3 separate regions of the Homo sapiens genome follow, and all the other regions are linked to region 1. Evidence: promoter capture Hi-C in 16 types of primary human blood cells and fetal thymus (Javierre and others, 2016). All regions are on one chromosome and are shown on one strand. The core of a region is centred on a gene start or on the middle of the fragment in contact, and the rest is flanking DNA. Distances in the headings are between cores, read along the strand shown.

The links. The method cuts DNA at HindIII sites, captures the fragments that hold promoters and counts their contacts. A CHiCAGO score of 5 or more calls a contact.
Region 2: a contact is called between the fragment with the promoter of ATIC here and the fragment with the promoter of LANCL1 in region 1, in 3 of 17 cell types (total CD4 T cells, naive CD8 T cells and activated CD4 T cells). The highest score is 7.3, in total CD4 T cells.
Region 3: the fragment with the promoter of MDH1B here is called in contact with the fragment with the promoter of LANCL1 in region 1 in 3 of 17 cell types (total CD8 T cells, naive CD8 T cells and non-activated CD4 T cells); the score reaches 8.1 in total CD8 T cells.

What each region holds. Positions count from the first base shown.
Region 1 is chr2:210,474,829-210,478,673 of GRCh38, reverse strand. It overlaps LANCL1 (LanC like glutathione S-transferase 1), which reads left to right and starts at 1,915. Exons shown (of 10, transcript NM_006055.3): 1 at 1,915-2,054; 2 at 2,262-2,358. The coding sequence starts at 2,278. It also overlaps a transcript of CPS1 not described here. The HindIII fragment of the contact is 5,337 bases long and covers 1-3,200 here.
Region 2 is chr2:215,309,811-215,313,655 of GRCh38, reverse strand. It overlaps ATIC (5-aminoimidazole-4-carboxamide ribonucleotide formyltransferase/IMP cyclohydrolase), which reads right to left and starts at 1,597. Exons shown (of 16, transcript NM_004044.7): 1 at 1,495-1,597; 2 at 1,032-1,158. The coding sequence starts at 1,513. It overlaps LOC124907975 (a long non-coding RNA gene), which reads left to right and starts at 1,684. Exons shown (of 2, transcript XR_007088075.1): 1 at 1,684-2,977. RefSeq lists silencers at 1,253-1,622, 1,633-1,712 and an enhancer at 1,243-1,893. The HindIII fragment of the contact is 8,450 bases long and covers 1-3,845 here.
Region 3 is chr2:206,763,475-206,767,319 of GRCh38, reverse strand. It overlaps MDH1B (malate dehydrogenase 1B), which reads left to right and starts at 1,992. Exons shown (of 12, transcript NM_001039845.3): 1 at 1,992-2,070. The coding sequence starts at 2,049. It overlaps FASTKD2 (FAST kinase domains 2), which reads right to left and starts at 1,714. Exons shown (of 12, transcript NM_001136193.2): 1 at 1,573-1,714; 2 at 1-676. The coding sequence starts at 626. RefSeq lists enhancers at 1,444-1,823, 2,074-2,213. The HindIII fragment of the contact is 1,569 bases long and covers 936-2,504 here.

The sequences.
Region 1 (3,845 bases), core at 666-3,165:
ATATGAAGCTAAATCCTCAAATCACAGTGTCACAATTAGATGGGTTTAACTTCATCGAAATGAAAGATTGTGATTCAATAAAGGATATCCTAGAAAATGTGAACAAACTAAAGAAAGTATCTACAATAACTAAAGTGAAAGGAGATTAATATACAGAATATACCCCACAAACACGGGAAAAAAAGAAACAAAACTCTTTCAAATCAACAGGAAAACAATGCAATCACTAATAGAAAAATAAATAAAGGAACAGGTAAAGCCCAATTGTCTAACAGGTATATGAAGGAAAGTTCAACACCATTAGCCACAGAAAAACTAAAAGATTAAACATCAGTGAGATTCTACATTATTCATTAGAATGGCAAACATTAGAACACTAGATAATACCAAGTGTTGGAGAGGAGATGGAAATGACAGAAACAATTGATATGTTGGAGTGAATACTCTTGGAGTGAACAATAGATACTGTTAGAGGGAATATAAACTAGTCCAGCAGTTTTGGAAAGCAATCTAACAACATTGGGGAAATTAAGTACAGAATCTCATATGATCCAGCAATTGACTGCTGGGTGTATGTCTCAGGGATACTCACACAGATTCATAAAAGCACATGTTCCAAGAATATTATTTGTAGTATGGAAGTTAGAAACAATGTCCATCATTAGGGGAAAGGATTAGTAAAATAAGATAGAGGCATACTATGAAAATATACAATTACCATCCTGCCTTGCTTAACAACAGTAATATTTAATTGCTTAAAGACTGTGAGTGGGATAAATGGATAGCCTTTAATCATTAAAGAAAAAATAATTGATAAAATGTCTCTCGTTTTCCTTTTCTCTCTTGTGAGTTGCTCCTTCAAACACCCATCTTTTAAAACATGAGAGATATCCAGCTTAAGACTCACCATGGGCCTCGGCTAAATCTTCATGAATTTGATGAGGTTAAGAAAGCAACTACATTTCCTAAGAAAGCAACTATTTTAAAAGAGCAAACCTGGGTGTGGGGAGGGATTAGGAGTAGAGTTTGGGATGGCAGCCTCAGAAGGACAAACTTAGGCCAAGGAGGGAGGGAGTTGGGGTGGAGACTGAGCTTCTCCAGTTGGAGGTCTGGAGCTAGGACTCTTCATTGAAACCGGAGAGAAGGAAAAGGAGAGAGTGAGGCTGACTTTTTAACTGAACTCCAAAATTCTCTGAGCAATAGAATGGGCCTAATATGTACCAGGTGGGATTTAATTTTAAATGAAAGAAAAATGTTTCAGATAGCAGGGACTGTTAAAACATTGAAATTGAATGTTGTGGATCTCCTGCTGTGTTGGTTTTCAGTATTTTTTAGAGCTTTGTTATCCAGTATTATAGTCCAATTTAGGCTAAGGAACAGAATAAATTTCCTAAGAGCTGTAATTTGTGTTTTCATGTGCTTTCCCCAAAGTATTATCAACTGCTATTTGATATCCTGTCCTTTGGGCATATTTTTGTTGTTGTTGTTGTTAATGATGGTGGTGCTTTTTTGTTTGTTTGTTTTAAGAAATGAAAAGAAAAGATTGGCAAGTCCCTGGAGAGACATTATCCCCCCACCCCCCGCCAAATTTTATCTATTGCGAACAGCAGAAATACCAGCATGTTCAGATCTAAAAGCAGTCTGTTTCTTCTCCAGGTTAAAAAAATATATACTTCTTATGACTCTGGACTTAAATTTGACTTTTTAAAAATAAGAAAAATTAAAGAAGGGTAGGAAATATTGGTCACATCTCCGCGTGATTCTAGGTCCTCACTTCTGCTACCCAGTAATTAAAATACCCTGCGTTATCCTTTAGAAATTACACGCCTGTGTCTTTAACAAACTGTAAGAGAGAAGGGGGCGGGTCTCGGGAACGGCGAAGGCTCTGATTGGCCCTCCTGGCAGGAACTGGGCGGTAAAATAGCCCTTCTGTTACTGTCCGGGGCTGCGGGGTGAGAGGCCAGGGCCGAGAAGGGCTTCAGGACGCGGGAGGCGCACTTGCTTCAAGTCGCGGGCGTGGGAACGGGGTTGCAAAACGGGGCCTCTTTGTCCGGGTGGGTTAAGGGCCCTGGCAGCTTTTTCGCGAAGGCGCCATGTCCTAGCAGTTGGGCCGCAGTGGGCCCGAGGTCCACTCGGACCGCCGAGACGGCTCGATGGCCCTGGAGCTGGAGGAAGGGGGATACCTGGGCGCCGCCGCCGCCCTCGCAACTCGGCCGAGGCCCCTATCTCAACCTAGTTTCTGTTTTTCCCCTGTTCTGCAGGCTTGCTTCCGGCGTCATGGCTCAAAGGGCCTTCCCGAATCCTTATGCTGATTATAACAAATCCCTGGCCGAAGGCTACTTTGATGCTGCCGGGAGGGTGAGTTTAGGATATGTCTGCCTGCATCCCTGCCTCTCCCCACGGTGTTCGGAAAGGTGCTCATTTTTGCCTGAGAGAGTTGAGCATCCCCCTTTAAAAAAATACATGATTCGACGATAAATACGTAAATTATTTAAAAATACATGTTAATATATACAAATTGAGCTCTAACATAATGTTAAATGTGTCATTGTTAACATTATTAATTGAAATAAACTCAATTATTGATAGTATAAATTTTAAAAATTGGCAAATATGTAGTTTACTATGTAATTGGCATTTTTTAATGTATTTTGGTTTGCTTCTTAAAAAGAGGTGAAGAATCCTAACGGTATTCACATGTGCCGTGTTACTCCTTTGTGATTATACACAAGTGCGTTCAGGGTAATGATGAGAGCAAACGGTGGTGTATGGTAAGGACGTCTTTAAACTGTTAGTGCTTAGAGAATTTGGGGACCTAGGAAACCTGAAGTTCTTTGTACCGGTGTCACTCCACAGGGCATATCCACAGCTGGAAAACAAAAAAAAAGAAACTTGTAAATTAAACTGGTTAGCATGTCACAAATCACTGTGCAAAAGAGAACCTGGATGTAAAATACTAGGGGCCTGTGTTTTCTCATGCCTCATTGGGTGAACATAATTGTTAAGAGGGAATACAGATATTTTTAAGAATACCTACTTTTGGCTGGGTGCAGTGGCTCACACCATTAATCCCGACACTTTGGGAAATCAAGGCAGGAGGATTGCTTAAGGCCACGAGTTTGAGACCAGCCTGTGCAACACAGCAGGACCTTATCTCTACTAAAATTTTTTTAAAAATTAGCCAGGTGTGGTGGAAAGCTTGTAGTCCCAGCTACTTGGGAGGCTGAGGCGGGAGAATTGCTGGAGCCTAGGAGATTCGAGGCTGTAGTGAGCTATGATTGCACCACTGCACTCTAGCCTGGGTGACAGAGACCCTGTCTCTAAAAAATAAAAAAATAAAATTTAGTTTTGAAAATGAGTTAAGTTGGAAACAAGGCACACGCTTTAAAAATTTTACCAGTTTATTTCTTTGAAACTTGTCAGCCATACAAAAGACATTTTATGTGATATAAAGGCCTTACAGATTTCATCCCTGTCAAATTAATCTGTGGGTCTGATGGTTGTTTTTTTCCTTAAAACACTTGTCACATTATAGATTAACTTGGGTCAGTAATGCAGGTAGGAGGAATCAAAGAGATGAAGAAGAGGTGTAGGGTAGAAGGCTACCAAAATGTATATGGAGTTTGAGTCAATCTGATTATTTTAAGACTAGTATTAAGCTGCCCAAACAAAGCTTTTTATAATTATCTTCAGGTCAGATGGATTCCCTTTGGCCATTTGGGCCTGCATTCTGCTTAGCTGTGCAGATTCTCAAGCTGAAGTATGTGTCTTGTCTTGCGGGAGGAGGACTTGCTGCTTCATACTGACTTGGCAAAGAGAACAGTTGAGGATTGTCCTAGTGACAG
Region 2 (3,845 bases), core at 348-2,847, 4.8 Mb before region 1:
GAAACCAAGAAGCAAATTTTCCACATGGCAACAAAAAGCAGACAGATATCCTTCATCTCTTTCATTCTAAAATATGTTTCAGGGGTGGTCATCTCGTTCCTCCCAACTCTCACTGCCGTTTATTAAATAGCTATCCTATAGTTTTTTTCATTTTTCTACCTTTCAGTAGACTTCCTCCCTCTCCTCCCAGAATGCCACTCCTTGACATCAGCAATGGCATCCTGGTTAATCATTTCTAAGTCCCTTCTTTCCATGGCCTAGTCAGCTAATGAAGGGCTTGTGAACGTGGGAATGAATGATTTGCACCTTCATATGGTTACCAGAGATTCTAAGGGAAGGCAGGTAAATTGGAATCTTCATGATGTCGAGTTTTATTAAATCACCAGTCAAAGTAACTGAAGTTTTCCTTGCATAACAAGTGGCCCACCTAAGTTAATCTGTTTAAGGAAGGGGCTAAGACTAGTGTCCTAAAATCAGGAACAGCACGGGTTCCAATCCTACTTTTCCCTTACTCAACTGTTTAAACTTGTGCAGAAGATGCTAAATCTGTCCAGTGTGTTGTCCAGGGTCTTTCTCTGTCACCCAGGATGGAGTGCAGTAGTGCCATCTCGGCTCACCACAACCTCCGCCTCCTAGGTTCAAGCGATTCTCCTGCCTCAGCCTTCCCAGTAGCTGGGATTACAGGCGTGTGCCACCATACCGGCTAATTTTTGTATTTTTAGTAGAGACGGGTTTCACCATGTTGGCCAGGCTGGTCTCGAACTCTTGACCGTAAGTGATCAGCCCACCTCGGCCTCCCAAAGTGCTGGGATTACATGCGTGAGCCACCTAGCCCAGCCGTCCAGGGTCTTAAAAGTTGCTAAATCTCTCTGAGCCTCACTTTTTTTCCCCATAAAGTGGGGAAGTATTACACCAACCTCACAGCGCTACTGGGAGGAGTAAATAAGGCGTTTTGCTGCTGGTGCCTGGAATACAATACTTCCTGGTTAATGTGATCACACTCCTTTCTGATGGAACTAGCTATGCCTTACCTGACTGCCAGACCAGCATCCCTGAGAGCTTTTGCAGTCCCTCCGGAAGCGACCAGATTCAAACCAAGAGCGGTCAGGTTTCTTGCAAATTCCACAAGGCCGGTTTTGTCAGAGACACTAAATAAGGCTGAAAGAGAAGACATTTTTTCTCATGATTCGCAGCACATTGCACTGTGTTCTGCAAGGCCTTGGGAGGGTCTGGGGGAGGAGATTCTCGAATCGCAAGGCCAGCACCTGGACCCTGCGTTCGCAGGCCTGGTCCGGGCCTCCCCAGGTCTTACACCCGCGAGCTGCTCTAAGGCGGGCCCCACGCAGGCTGCGGCCCGGCCGGGGAGCGGGGACGCTGGCTTTCAATCCCGCAGCGCCGCCCCTGCAGTGCCGGGTCCCGCCGGCCGCCGCCAAGGCGGGAGCGTGGGGGGCCGCAGGCGAGGACGCAGACCGCGCCGCTCCGCTAGGGCCTCACCGAGCTGGCCGGGAGCCATGGCTGCAGGCACTGGGTTCAGGGCGAGCGGGAGGCAGCAGCGGCGGCACCACGTGCGCAGGTAGGAGGGCTGCCGGGATGTGGCGGCTCAGGAAGCGAGGGGGCGGAGCTGTTTCCGGGCTTATCACGTGGCCCGCCGGCCCTGCCCGGCGCCCTGCTCTGCTCAGTTTCAGATGCAAGATCCGCGCCCCGGGGCTGAAGGGAACGGCGGGATGGGGTGGGGCTCTGCCTGGCGCGCCTGGGCGGAGTGCTTGGGCTGGAAGGGATCCTGCCTGCGATCCCGAAGTCCAGGCGTGGGAGCCAGCGATCTGCCCACGACCCCAAAGTGAGGCCACTCCACGGCCTCTGGGGCAAATGCCTGTTATTCTAGGCAGCCGGTCCCCAGAAGCTGGAAAGTACGTAAAAGTGCCAGAAGCTCCCATGCTGAAAACTAAACAAAAGGAATAGTTCATATAGCGGCAAAGCTGGAAAGTATCTGGACAGTTATCTACCATCCTCCCTTTTTGTTTGTTGTTTTTTTGTTTTTCTGGGTTTTTTTGTTTTTTTTGTTTTTTTTTTTTTTTTTTGAGATGGAGTTTCGCTTTTGTTGCCCAGGCTGGAGTGCAATGGCGCGATCTCGGCTATGTCACGTGCAACCTGCAACCTCCACATCCCGGGTTCAAGAGTTTATCCTGCCTCAGCCTCCCGAGTAGCTGGAATTATAGGCAGGCGCCACGATGCCCGGCTAATTTTTGTATTTTTAGTAGACATGGGGTTTCGCCATGTTGGCCAAGCTGGTCTCAAACTCCTGACCTCAGGTGATCCGCCTGCCTCGGCTTCCCAAAGTGCTGGGATTACAGGGGTGAGCCACCATGCCCAACTTGTTTTTTGTTTGTTTGCTTGCTTGCTTGTTTGCTTGTTTGTTTTGAGACAGGGTCTCGCTCTGTCTCCCAGACTGGAGAGCAGTGGCACCATCTCAGCTCACTGCAACCTCTGCCTCCCAGGTTCAAGAAATTCTCCTGCCTCTGCCTCCACACCCGTCTAATTTTTTGTTGTTGTTGTACTTTTTTTTTTTTTTTTTTGTATATTTAGTAGAGATGGGGTTTCACGGTGTTGGCCAGGCCGGTCTTCAACTCCTGACCTCAAATGATCTGTCCACCTCAGCCTCCCAAAGTGCTGGGATTACAGGTGTGAGCCACCGTGCCCGGCCCCATCCTCCTTTTTAATAGGCTTAAAAAATAAAACCAAGGACCAATGATTTAAGTGAGGGACTCCAGAGGCCACAGATGACAGTCAAAACGAAGTGAAATTGACATTCGTTGTTGATTTTCACGTCATAAAATTATAATTTAAATATTAATTTATAATACTATTTTATACAATTTAGTCAGTATTGTAAAAGTGCCTAAAAACTACTTAAAGATGGTGTCTTCTTGCAAACCTGTAAATATTCCTGGATGAGAGGAATGATGACAGTCAAAAGAAGGTAAGAGAAGACCTTTCTTAATTCATTAAAAACAGGGAAAGCAAAATTGAACACATTTGTTTCTTTCTAAAAATGACACCTTTGCCACAAAATAAATACATATTGTGGTCTATGAGTCTTTTTTGTGTTATTAGAATTATATTCCAAAGTAATAGCATTGTTTATCTTTTAGTCTGAGCTCACAGCTGTAAAAATGAGTCTATTTTCTCATTATCTGCATGCTATTTATTTTTGTTTTTCCTCTTCCTTTCTCTAATTCTTCCCATCTCTTTACTCCCCAAAATAAATACCTATTGACTAGAATCAATTTTTTTTTTTTTTTTTGAGACAGAGTCTCGCTCTGTCACCCACACTCTCGCTCTGTCACCCACACTGGAGTGCAGTAGCGCGATCTCGGCTCACTGCAACCTCTGCCTCCCAGGTTCAAGCGATTCTCCTGCCTCAGCCTCCCGAGTATCTGGCACTACAGGCGCGTGCCACCATGCCTGGCTAATTTTTGTATTTTTAGTAGAGATGGGGTTTCGCCATGTTGGCCACGCTGGTCTCGAACTCCTGACCTCAGGTGATCCACCTGCCTTGGCCTCCCAAAGGGCTGGGATTGCAGGCGTGAGCCACCGCGTCCAGCCTGGAATCAATTTTTTGACCTCTAAATATGTTAGCCCTTTGCTCTGAACACTTCTCACATTCCTACGAGGAATATATTAAGATTATCGCATGTCTTCAGTGTGTTTGCCAAATTTGAATTTAAAAAGGATATTTCCTTGGCCAGTCACCATCAGGTTTTTACAGGAAATCGAAAGCAAGGAAAGGAGAAAACAATGCTGACATTTATTGATAAGGGGAAATAAACAGTTGCTTCGGCATTATG
Region 3 (3,845 bases), core at 743-3,242, 3.7 Mb after region 1:
CTAAACATCAGTCGTTTTTCAAAGCGCTTCTGGTCATCAGACAGTCTTTTGGCAATTGTCCACATTGCTGTGAAATAGTTGCTACTAGGAAATGTGGGCGCTTTTGAAAATGCATCTAACACATCACTCAGGGAATTACATTCCTCAGACAGTTTTCTACTGCTGATACGGTTTGGTTTTGTTTCCTTGGTAAGAACATCTTCATTGGAGACTTCATGATTAAGGTTTACTTTCTTCAATTCATCATCAGATTTATCAACAGGGACAAGAGACTGCTTTGAGTCAAAAAACAGTCTTTTAGCATAAAGTAGTCTTTCAATTCTAAGGGCTGTTAGAGTGCTTATGCCCTTTGTTTGAAAGCCAACATCTGATTTAAAAATGAATGCATCCTGAAAGAGATATCTAATGATATCAGTTGATTGCATTCTGTTATGAAAGTTATTTAAAATGTTCCAGTTTGAATGAACTATTTTTGGTTTGCAAAGTCCCAAACAACATAGCCTCATAGTTCTGCTTGTTGAAACTAATGTACTGAATTGTCTAAGGTTCCAGAAAAAGGAGCCCGCTTTGTTATTCATTTTGCTCTCCACTGAAACACTTCCAAATGGCTTCAAAGTTGTCAACATGAAACCAACGTCACTTCTACTAGTGAAAAAGAACACGTGCTGTCGTTTTCCTGTAGGGGAAGAAGTAATGAAAAGAATAAAAATTAAAACAAAACTTTTACTTAAAGAAATGAAATGCATTTAACAGAAGAGAAAATGGGGAACCTATGGAGCCATTAAACATTTACATAAAACAGTAAAAGTTTTTTTTACCAATGTGGGCTCCCTCCAATCTACCACAATGTGTCCAGTTTCAAAGAAGCCAGGTCACTTTGGAAGTAGTCATTGTATTAATGAGATTTTTCTGGTGCAAAAGCGTTCCATAAAGCTTTCTCTGTAGGAGAGACTTTTGTTGGCATTGTTATGGAAATGTCCTCGGTGAAAATTAGGGGATTAGCATTGATAGATCATTTTCTTTTCTCTTCTCTGTTTTTTTTTTTTTTTTTTTTTTTTTTGAGACAAAGTCTTGCTATGTCCCCCAGGCTAGAGTGCAGTGGCGCGATCTTGGCTCACTGCAACCTCCACCTCCCAGGTTCAAGCAATTCTCCTGTCTCAGCCTCCCAAGTAGCTGGGATTACAGGCGTATGCCACCACGCCCGGCTAATTTTTGTATTTTTTGTAAAGACGGAGTTTCACCATGTTGGCCAGGCTGGTCCTGAACTCCTGACCTCAGGTAATCCACCCGCCTCGGCCTCCCAAGGCGTGAGTCACCGCGCCCGGCTGATAGATCATTTTCAACATGACGATTTAGCAACGGCCGAACCCAGACCATCAAGAATAGGGACCTGGGCAGGTAGAACGGCTCAGTGGAAGAAGCAGAAAACGAAAGCGATGTCTGCACGTGGCCTGCGCTTAAGAGGAAGATCTTATACAACCAGCCAGCCTCACCAGACCCCAGAACCAACTTCAAGAGCCTGTCCTTCCGCAGCTGGGCCGCCCAGCATTAACCCACCTCCTTTAAACTTACTTCCAGGACAACTCGTGAGACTCTTCTCCTCGAAGTAAAAAGTCTAGGATGTGATACGGGCTGCCGCTAAGCCCAAGCTCGTCCTCCACTCACCTTAGAGCACAAGACCGTGACTACGTACAGGAGCAGCCATGACAGCTTCCCCGAGAAGCTGCGCTTCTCACGAGATCTTACGGATTCCCTCAAAGGTCAAAAAGCATATGTTCGCGGCTGTAGCTGAAGGACTTACTTGAAGAAAGTTTACCAAGGAGAATGACTAATTTCCCTGCATACAGGAGTGGGGCTCGGGGATACCACAGAGCTTATAAGGGCGATGTTTGATCGTGTATCGCAACGTAACCCATTCAGGTCCTAACTTTAAACACCTAACCTCTGCTGGGCGCCAGACTTTGTAGTGCGCCTGCGCCTTGCCCTTGGCTGCGTGGTTGCCAGGAAACCGCGAAGCCGCGGTCCCTGCCTCTGAGTCTCTCTCGACCATGGCCAAATTCGTCATCGCGGGTGAGTGATCCCCGCGTCCGCCCGCAGATTGCTCAAAACGCCGACAACAGCTCACCTCCCATGGCCGCTCGGCTTGGCAGCCTCTATACGGACCGCTCCATGCTTTGCTATAGATTTATTCAAAGTTTTTTACTGGACCGTGACGGTGCGCCAAGCATTGTGGGACACTGGGGATGCAATGGAGGGAAACATATCCCTGCCTTAGAGGAGCTTTCAGTCTCATGGGGCACAGAACATGTACTTTTGATACGGTGTGATTAACGCGATGAAGGAGACCTGCACAGGCCTCTGGGAGCGTAGACTCCTAATCTGGGTTTGGGGGATGAGGGAGAGGTGGACACAAGGAACTGGCTGGGGAAGGTATTACAGGAGCTGAGTTGTGAAGGTGTGAGCTGAGGAGGCTATTCCAAATAAAAGCAGAGAGGCAGGAAGCTTCCTGGCCTAACAGAAGATCTGGATATGTGGGGCGTGACAGGACCTGGGGCTACAACAGGAGCAGGAGCCAGGTCCTTGCATTTCATGTAGGTCAAGCAAAGGTGTTTGAACTGTATCCTGAAAGCAATGAGGAATTATAGAAAAATTTTAAGCAGGAGAGTAGTCTTAATGAGTTTGCATTTTAGGAAGCCTGTCTTGGCAGCAACGGAGAGAATGATTGAAAGTGCTGGTTGACAGCAAGGACTCAACTGAGAAGGCTTTTATTACAACAATCCATGGTACCTACCTCCTCTCCTCGTAAAGTTTCTTAAAAGAGTAGACTGCTCTTCCATCTCCAGTTCTGCCTTCCAATCAGTCTTGGAAGAAGGCTTCTACTTCTGCTTCCTGACAGAAACTGCTGTCACCAAAGTCACCACTGACTTTTATAGAAGCTGTTTAGTCTTTGACTTATTTGATCTCTTTGATGCATTGAACACAATTGACATCTACCATCCACAGGAGATTTTTTTTTTTTTTTGAGACAGGCTCTCACTTTGTCACCCAGGCTGGATTGCAGTGGTGCAATCGTGGCTCACAGCAGCTTTGACCTCCTGGGCTCAAGCGATCCTCCCACCTCAGCCTCCCAAGTAGCTGGGACTACAGGCATACACCAGCATGCCCAGCTAATTTTTGTATTTTTGTAGAGATGGGGTTTTGTCATGTTGCCCACGCTGGTCTTGAACTCCTACGCTCAAGTGATTTGCCCACCTTGACCTCCCAAAGTGCCAAGATTACAGGCATGCACCACCACACCTGGCCCAGAAGAATATTTTTGAACACTGACTAACCACATGGTGGGAAGTCAGTGGAAAACACACAGAGAATGTTGCATGTATGACACTGACAGGGCAGGGTTCTATAGGAACGATAGCAGGGACCTTACTTAATCAGGTAAGGGTTTCCCAGAGGGAGAGATTTTAAGCAGATACCTGAAAGATGATAATGAATTACCTAACAGAGAAGAGGTAGAAAGGAGGGGAGCAATTTAGGCATGGGTAACTGGGAGTGGGGTTAGAGCAAGGAGAACTAGTTTGGTGACAATTGAGAATATAAAATAAGTATAAAATTGAAATAAGTTTATTAGGACTGAAGCAAATAGTACAAGGAAGAGAATTTCATAAGGTGAGGCTAGAGTTAGATAATGTAGATTCTTTTGAGCCACATTCAGTAGTTTAGACTTTATCCAGAGTACATGAAAGGTTTTTAGAAGGGGAGGAGGGCCTAATCAAATCTGAATTTTATCTGAATGTTACGGCTATAGTGTGGGACAAAAAGACTGGATACCAAGAAACCAGTTAGGA